Linked DNA regions of Homo sapiens: region 1 is linked to region 2. The links are contacts of gene promoters, found by promoter capture Hi-C in blood cells and fetal thymus (Javierre and others, 2016). All regions are on one chromosome and are shown on one strand. The core of a region is centred on a gene start or on the middle of the fragment in contact, and the rest is flanking DNA. Distances in the headings are between cores, read along the strand shown. Region 1 has its middle 18 kb from the start of GRIP1. Region 2 holds the start of IRAK3 (interleukin 1 receptor associated kinase 3).

Region 1 (4,200 bases), core at 1,200-3,699, 510 kb before region 2:
TCCAAGGGAAAGATGGTGTTTAGTCATGAGTATCTGCTTGTGGGACACATGTGGTAACCTAGTGTGAAGTGGGTGTGGATGAGGGCTGGATGATGTGAGAAGAGAATAGACAGGAGATGATAGTAATGGTAGCAACAGCTGGCATTTACTGAGCCTGCTGCATGACTGAGAACTTCACTTAAGCCTCCCAACAACGCTGCAAGGGTAGAGGCTGCTGTTTTCCCCACTTATGAAAATATGAGTTTGCCCACAATCATACAGTAGGAACAGTTTTTCTTACTCCAGAAACTGTGCTTTAAAAAGTCAAAGAAAGAAATAACCAAGTTTGTTATGGTAACATTGGTAGAGGACTTGAGTGGTGCTTCCACCTACTGGGCTTCCAGAGCAGCTAGATACGATAGGTAGATTCATATTAACCTCTGGAGGGGATGGGGTGGGAGGACCACCCTAGAGCCAACAAAGGAGGTGGGGGGCCAGACTATTATTATCTTCACCGAACAAACAAGAAACAGGGAAGGAGGAAGGCAAGAAAAGAGAAAATAACTCTGCCGAGATTTCTAGCCTAGGAGACTTGCGGGTTGGTGGCCAAACTGACAAATAGGAAATAGTTGAAAAAGAGCTGTCCTGGGAAGCATTTGTGAAGTTCTGCCTTGCGTGTGTAGAATGTGGGTTCATGGTGGAACTTTCAAGTGTTTACATCCTGTGTGCAAATGAAAATAAGGCACAGGTACAGCTTTTACTCTTCAACAAATATTTTTTAAAAACACAAGGCGTCCTGATACTAAAAAGTGATGTTTCCCCATAGTTGACAGGTAAAAAACACTTTCTTTCTAAATTAAGTACAATTAATTGTGATCTTAGTTACTTTGTTCACTCCTGGTTACATTTTTGACATGTTAATTCTTTTCAGTGCATGTTCAAGTCTAGATACATATTGATTGAAGAGAAGAATTTTGAGACAAATCTCATGAACCTCCATATCTGGTGGCACAAGTCTCATTTAGCAATGTGCTCCATTCTTTTTCAAGCTCCTAATCTCTGATTGTTGTAAATATTGTAGAAAGCATATTGCTTTCTACAAATATAGGATCACAAATACTGTAACCGTAATTCTTTTCTGTATTTAATACTGCATACTGAAGATTTTTTCTAGTTGTAGAATACAGAGAAATCTAGATATATGGTCCAGATCGATAACAAGAGGATCAATAAGCTTTTATTCTTGTTGCACTTCGCTTTGTTGAGGGGGTCTTGATTTGCATTTGCTGATTAGAGCCATTTGTCTAATATATAGACATGAGAAACATAGTTTGAATAAGGCCAGAACTTCCTACAAAGAGAGTAACCCACTAAAAATACTTTCGAATCTGTTGCTTTTCACTTCCTTACACCTTCTCTCCTGGAATTTAGTTCAGATTTGGAGCTGTCTATGGACAGAGAAAGAGGCATCAGTTTCATCCCTGTGCCTGACTCAGCTCAGTGCAGCCAGTTAGCACGCTTCTCAGCCCTTCACCACAAAACCAAAAGTATCTTAAAAAGTAGTCTCAAATGTGTGACTGCCCCAAATTGAGCCCCAAGTGAGTCTGGAGCTGAGGGCCAGGTGCATTTGTGTTGTCGGCCATTTCCCTATGGTTATCTAGCCCATTCTGCCTTCTGTTTGAAGATAACTGAAATATTATCAAAAATGGTTTGTTTAAAGGTGTAACAGCTGTGTTTCTGCAAGAAGCTCATAATAATTAAATTAATACCTGTAGTGGCTCTCTCTAAGGAAGTCTGGAAGCTTTGCACATATTAACATATTTATTCTTTCCACCTCTCTCTGATGTGAGGGAAAGGTCATTGTCATTTTTATATTTCCCTTGATGCAAAAGGAAATAAGTTACAGCAAGGATGGAGTTTGAGATAGGTCAGGAGAGAAGGAAAATTGGTCTTTTTTCCCTTTAGATTTTAGTCCTTTTGTTCATGGTTGTTAAAGTTCAAACTATTCCATTCCTCTATCCATTAATACATTTGCTTGTTCCTTCATTCATTCACTACCAAATGTTTATAAAGCACCTGCTATATGTCAGGCACTGGGATCACACTTGTCTTCAGAGTAGTTTGAAACTTCACTGTTGTACAGAAGTTACTTTGTGCTTTACAGAACCCAGAACCACCTCTGGGAAGCACAGTTTATAAACCACTGAAGTAGAACATTCAGTCATTTATTCAACAAGCAACTTTTTTTGCATCTACCAAATTCTATTAGGTGCAGGCTGCCTAACATCCCTCTTGGATCACAAAATCTATAACAGTAATTCTTTTTTTTTTTTTTTTTTTTTTTTTTTTGAGACAGAGTCTTGCTCTGTCACCCAGGCTGGAGTGCAGTGGTGCGATCTCAGCTTACTGCAAGCTCTGCCTCCCGGGTTCACGCCATTCTCCTGCCTCAGCCTCCCAAGTAGCTGGGACTACAGGTGCCCGCCACCATGCCCAGCTAATTGTTTGTTTGTTTGTTTTTTGTTTTTTGTTTTTTTTAGTAGAGACGGGGTCTGTGTTGGCCAGAATGGTCTCGATCTCCTGACCTTGTGATCCGCCCGCCTCGGCCTCCCAAAGTGCTGGGATTACAGACGAGAGCCACCACGCCTGGCCTAACCATAATTCTTTTTAAAATTTCTTTTTCATGCTGAGTATGTTCCACCTTTCTCTAACTCATTCTCTTTGTAGCCTCTTTATGACTATCAGGAATAAAGAATTTGTAGAATGTCTTCTTTGTTACACTGTCCTTAATAATGTTTAGATTGGTATTTTTCTTTAGGCTAGCAACTTACTCATCAGGAATCAAATTCTTCAAATGACAAGGAGCTTGCAGAGCTAGAGTTTTCTGTAGATTGAGAGAAATGAATAGGTTGACTTGTGTTTCTGTATGTCTACTGGGTCAAAGGACCATTCTTGAGATGTGAAAGTACCCTAAAGAGTGGCACAGCTGGTAAGTGTTATGAGTTGTCCTTTAAAAAAAAAATGGGGTTTTGAGATAATAGTAATTTTGCTAATCATTAGCTTATTCCATTTTATGCCTATATTGTGATTTGATTCTCTCTTCCCCTCTTCATTTAGTTTTTCCGTTTTCTTTCAAGCTTCATTCCCATTTGCCCCATGCTACCAGTTCTTTCTTCTCCTGGAATATTTGCCTGCTCCACCATGGACAGACTCTTAGTTATCCTTCACAATCCACCTCCAGTCCCACCTCCTCTGTGAACCTTTCCTACTGCCTCATTTATCCATTCTTCTCACTAATTTGTTTTCTCCCTTTTGCATCCACACATCCTACTGATAGTATCAATAAAGCTGATATTCCACTGAATTATTGTTACTTGTTTAAAGATACCCTGCATATGTAAATGACATTGCAGAAAAGATATTCATTAAGTGATATTTTTATTCCATTCTATCACCTTCACCAATGCCCTCCCCAAGAAGCTCCTTAAAAACGAAGATTATCAACCTCAATTTTGTACCTCTAGTTCCCTCCCCAGTGCTTGAAACATTTGCTTTCAGCTAGCAACAACACTGTAGCAGTTTTGGATAAGATAACCTCCTACCTGCCTAGCAAGGGCTTTCAGATTTATGCCCATGGATCAATCCCATTAGTGGTAGACATGGACTAGGGCCAAGAGGAGGAGTGGAGCCAACCACCGACAAGTCACAGGATCTCCTCCTCTCGTGTGGCCCATAGCTCGTGCTGTGTATCCCAACCTTGGGCTAATCAGTCCACTTCTGGAACAGGTGTTCTCTGTCCAGCATACTGTGGCTGACAGGAGAGGGGAAGAATTTGCCACCTGGTCAGAATTTGTGTAAACAGATGCCATAAAAAAAAAAAAAACAGGTTAGATTGCATGCTGGGTCAGCAGTTGAGGAGTGCTTTGAGAAAAGTGTCTTCCCCCTATGAGCAAGGCTCCTCCTCACACATGGTCAGCCCCACTTCTCCACCCAGAGGAGGTAGAGCCTGTTCTAGGAACTCCTGTTGAACATCTAACACATCGTACTGCACTGGCAGCCTGATGGTCTTTATGACTTGGTTAGAGACAGATGATTTGGAAGTGGGAATAAAAAGCTTTCTTCCTTATTTTAAAAAGATTTGCCTTTGTTTTATGAAATTATAACAACAACAGTTATCAGTAAGACTTTAGTGCTTCAGAGAGATGTTGGACCTCAGATAAGACA
Region 2 (4,358 bases), core at 25-2,524:
CATCTCAAAAAGATCTGATGGGGAAGTGACCTTATCCCTCAAAATCCCTCAAATGCACACTGGAAATCTCGTTTTCTAGAAATCAGACTTTTTTTTTTTTCTTAAGGGCCATAACTTAAAATTACAGAGCTTAAAATATATAAACATTTTTTGTATAACCAGAAGCCCATTGCTACAATTCAAAGACTGTCACCATACTGTTCATCAGTAACAAAGAAAACTCTCCTCTTAGGCCTTCTGCTAGTCCTGGTAAGAAAAATCCTATTTCAGACCATTAAAGCTAAGTTATTTTGACATAATCATGATTCTTTTCAATAAACATTAAACATGACATTGTGGAATATCAAATCTAACCAAAAATGCCTGTACTTAACAAAACGAAGATTTTTGTCCGAATTATCTCTGGCTACACTCAACACTTCCAGCAGGCAGTTGCTCAACTTTCCAATGTCTGCATAAAATACAGTTCTGAAGCCAATTTTTTTAGATTAAAATAAAAAGCCACCCTTTAGCATAAACCTTCATTCAACGAAATTGGGTAAATAAGATTTAATTAAGAAAATTAGGAGCCGCGTTCATTGCAAACCGTAGTTTACTTTAGCATTTCACTTGTAATTAAGTTAGGGGCTTAGGGATGCATTGAAAACACCAAAGGATAAGTATCTCAAAGTTCTAAAAATGTCTCAATACTAAAATGATGTTCTGGGGTGATTTTGCAAGGACCAGAAGACATCATACATTGCGAACCCAGTGAGGGTGGCATCGCGGACGAACAGAAGATGCTTTCACGCTGGTTATCTGTCTTTCCCAGGCCTCGGCTCCCTTGACTTTGCAGCGATACCCAAAATTCTTTGAAAGAGAAGGGAGGGAAGGCATCTGGGTCCCAGGGAGTCTCTGCATCCAACCCAGGAAAGGAGGGGGCCGGCTCCCTGGCGGGAACTTCCCGGAGGCCGCGCCAGCCCCGCGAGGGACCCCAGCCATGCAGGGCGACGCCGAGCGGGCCCCGCGGCGCGCTGGGCTCCCCCGCCGCCCCCGGCCGGTCCCCGCCGACTCACCCAGGCCGCGCCAGCCCAGCGCGCCGTCGCAGCTGTCCAGAACAGCGCAGAGCTCTCCGAGCAGCGCGGGCGGCAGGTCGAACAGCAGCGTGTGCGCCGACAGCGCGCCGCGGGCCCCACAGTTCCCCGCCATGGCTCGGCTGCCCGAGCCCCGGGGACGAGGCGGAGTCCAGGTCCCTGCACGCCTGCGACAGGCCGTTACACAACCGCGGAAATCCTGCTTCCACGACGGCAGCAGAGCCCTAGGAACACGCCGTTCTCCGGTCACTGCAGGGGCGGTGCCCACGTGACGCAAGGCGCGCCTCGCCCGAGATGCCCCTGCGTCCGCCTGGCCAGGCCTGGGGGTTACCCGACCCGGGTTCTCCCTTCGCTGGCTTTGCGCCCCTTCACACCTCTGCGGTGGGGACGGAGCTGCCGAGACAAGCAGAGTGCGAACTGGAGAAAGCCCAGAGCTCAGAGCTCCCAGGAGCCCACCGTGCCCCACGGCTAGGCGGTCTCCTGGTGTGGACGGCTAGCGGTGTCATTACTTCTTACAAAAGTTTATTTTTGAAAGCTTCTCCCTTCCTTCCTTCTTCCCTTCCTTTCTTTTCTTCCTTTTTTCTTTGTTTTGAGTCAGGTTCTCACTCTGTCGCCCAGGCAGGAGCGCAGTGGCGCTATCTCAGCTCACGGAGCCTCCACCTATTGGGCTCAAGCGATCCTCCCACCTCAGCCTCCCGAGTAGCTGGGACCACAGTCGCACGCCACCACGTCCGGCTAATTATTTTTTTTCGTTTTTCGTAGAGAGGGAGTGTCGTTATGCTGCCCAGGCTGGTTTCAAACTCCTGGCCTCAAGCGATCCTCCCACCTCCGGCTTCCCAAAGTGCTGGGATTCGGGGTGTTAGCCACTGTCCCGGACTACTTCTTTTTTATCCTGTCAGAAAAACTATCCATGTTCATCGAGGAACACTTGGAAAACCCAGAAAAAAACTGAAAAAAGAAGATAATCACTCACAACCCCACTCAGCCCATCACACTCTAAAAGTTTTGACACATTTTCCTCCCAACTTTTACTGAATTTAAACAGATAAAAATGTACATATATGGGATTATTATTGGAAAAGATGAATGTAGATACCAACAAGAGAAAAACAGAAAAGACACCAAATCAGCGTAAAATTATGTTCGTTTTCTTCACGAGGCGGCCTCTCCTCCATACACCTACTTGGTTTTAATAAATTTTCTTCCTCATGGGCTTCCTTGATGAAATATCGTTCCATCATTTTTTCCTTCCTCAAAGTGCTTCACACAATCTTCCTTTTTGCCTTCAACATGGAGTTTAAGTAAAATTGTTGTTTTGAAATCTTCACGGAGTTTAAGTAAAATTGTTGTTTCAAAATCTTCTAGGTCACATGAGGCATGTTACCAGTGACAAAAAGTTGTTTTGAAAGTGGTGAGAAAAATCTCAGCCTTAGTGACTGGAAGAGTGGGCAGTGGCCATCAAGTGAAAACACCAGAGGTGTTTTGAAACCTCTCAGATTGTAGTCTTTGGAATAGCTGCCCCTAGAGATCACGAGTGATGAAACACTATCATTTCATGCCCCTACCTGAATGGTTTTGCCAGCGAAAATACTTCATAAAAATGTATCTGAAAACTGGCAAAGCCCATACTGTGTGGGCAAGAATTTCGATATCCCGTTGTTCAAGGTTTTATTGTCAATCTGTACACACTGTACACCTACCTACCTTCCTTCCTTCCTTCCTTCCTTCCCTCCTTTCTTCCTTCCTTCCCTCCTTTCTTTCTTATTTGTTTTTTTTAGTCGCTCTGATTGCCCAGGTTGGGGTGCAATGGTGCGATCTCGGCTCACTGCAACTTCCACCCCCTGGGCTCAAGCCATCCTCCCACCTCAGCCTCCAGTACAGCTGGGACTACAGGTGCATGCCACCATGCCTGGCTAACCTTTGTAGTTTTTGTAGAGACGGGGTTTTCCCATGTTGCTCAATCTGGTCTCAAACTCCTGGGCTCAAGTGATCCACCTCCCTAGGCCTCCCAAGGTTCTGGGATTACAGGCATGAGCCACCACACCCGGCCCTCTATACATCTCTTAAAGGGACTACCTGAACATGCTGAGCAACAGAGGCAAAAGGCCATTAATTATTTGGTAGCTTTTGAATTGCTACTACAGGGAGGCAAACTCACTCAGAGGAAACAGGAAATCACTGCAGATGAGGGAAGCAATCAGAAAGGCCTGCTTTACCAGATCTTGTAATTTACCAAGAAGCAAGGATCCTAAGTGAAAGCTAGAGTATGTGAAATTTCCTGTATTTTCAGTGTTGGCAGTCGTTCTCAGACCATGTTGCCTTCCTATTCCTAAAACTGTCTTGAGTTTTGATTTTTATATCATCAGGTTGTATCATCATGGTTGCTATCAACTGCTGATCTCCCCGACTCCAATTCCTTCTCCTCGTTTTTAGACTCTCTAGCTCCTGGCTCATTGTTGCTCTCTCCAGTACTAATCCTATCTTAGTTCTCAGTGATTTAAAATATATGTAGAATAACTATTCACAATAGCAAAGACATGGAATCAAGCCAAATGCCCATCAATGATAGACTGGATAAAGAAAACGTGGTATGTATACACCATGGAATACTATGCAGCCATAAAAAGGAATGAGATCATGTCCTTTGCAGGGATAGGGATAGAGCTGGAGGCCATTATCCTCAGCAAACTAACACAGGAACAGAAAATCAAATACTGCATGTTCTCACTTATAAGTGGGAGCTGAACCATGAGAACACATGGACACTTGGTGGGGAACAATGCATACTGGGGCCTGTCAGGGGAGGGGGTAGGGGGAGGCAGTGAATCAGAAGCAATAGCTAATAGATGCTGGGCTTAATACCTAGGTGGTGGGATCATCTGTGCAGCAAACCACAATGGCACATATTTACCTATGTAACAAACTGCACATCCTGCACATGTACCCTAGAACTTAAAATAAAAGTTGATGAAACAAAATTAAAACATACACACACACACACACACACACACACATATATATATATATATATGTAGAATAGATGGTGATCTTTCCAATGCCCTGGCCTCTCATTTCCTTGACTCCTCTTCTCTGGTGACATTGTACTCCACCCAATGCTCCATTTCAGACACTTACTCCCATGAGCGTCCCCTAGAATTTGTCATTATCAATAGCTGCATCCCATCTATAATTTCTTTCATGAATCCACTCTCTGATCATACCTCCTGTCTTTCTAGCACATTCCCTCTAGTACTCTGACCCCAACAATCCTGTCCCTTCACCAGA

What was found. Contacts are between HindIII fragments. The CHiCAGO score rates a contact against its expected background, and 5 or more counts as called.
Region 1: a fragment that was not itself captured here is called in contact with the fragment with the promoter of IRAK3 in region 2 in 2 of 17 cell types (M0 macrophages and total B cells); the score reaches 5.3 in M0 macrophages.

What each region holds. Positions count from the first base shown.
Region 1 is chr12:66,694,933-66,699,132 of GRCh38, reverse strand. It overlaps a transcript of GRIP1 not described here. Among named protein-coding and RNA genes, the nearest start is that of GRIP1, 18 kb to the right of the region's middle. The HindIII fragment of the contact is 1,333 bases long and covers 1,783-3,115 here.
Region 2 is chr12:66,186,130-66,190,487 of GRCh38, reverse strand. IRAK3 (interleukin 1 receptor associated kinase 3) reads right to left here and starts at 1,274. Exons shown (of 12, transcript NM_007199.3): 1 at 1,056-1,274. The coding sequence starts at 1,188. RefSeq lists silencers at 940-1,099, 1,120-1,169. The HindIII fragment of the contact is 2,960 bases long and covers 1-1,610 here.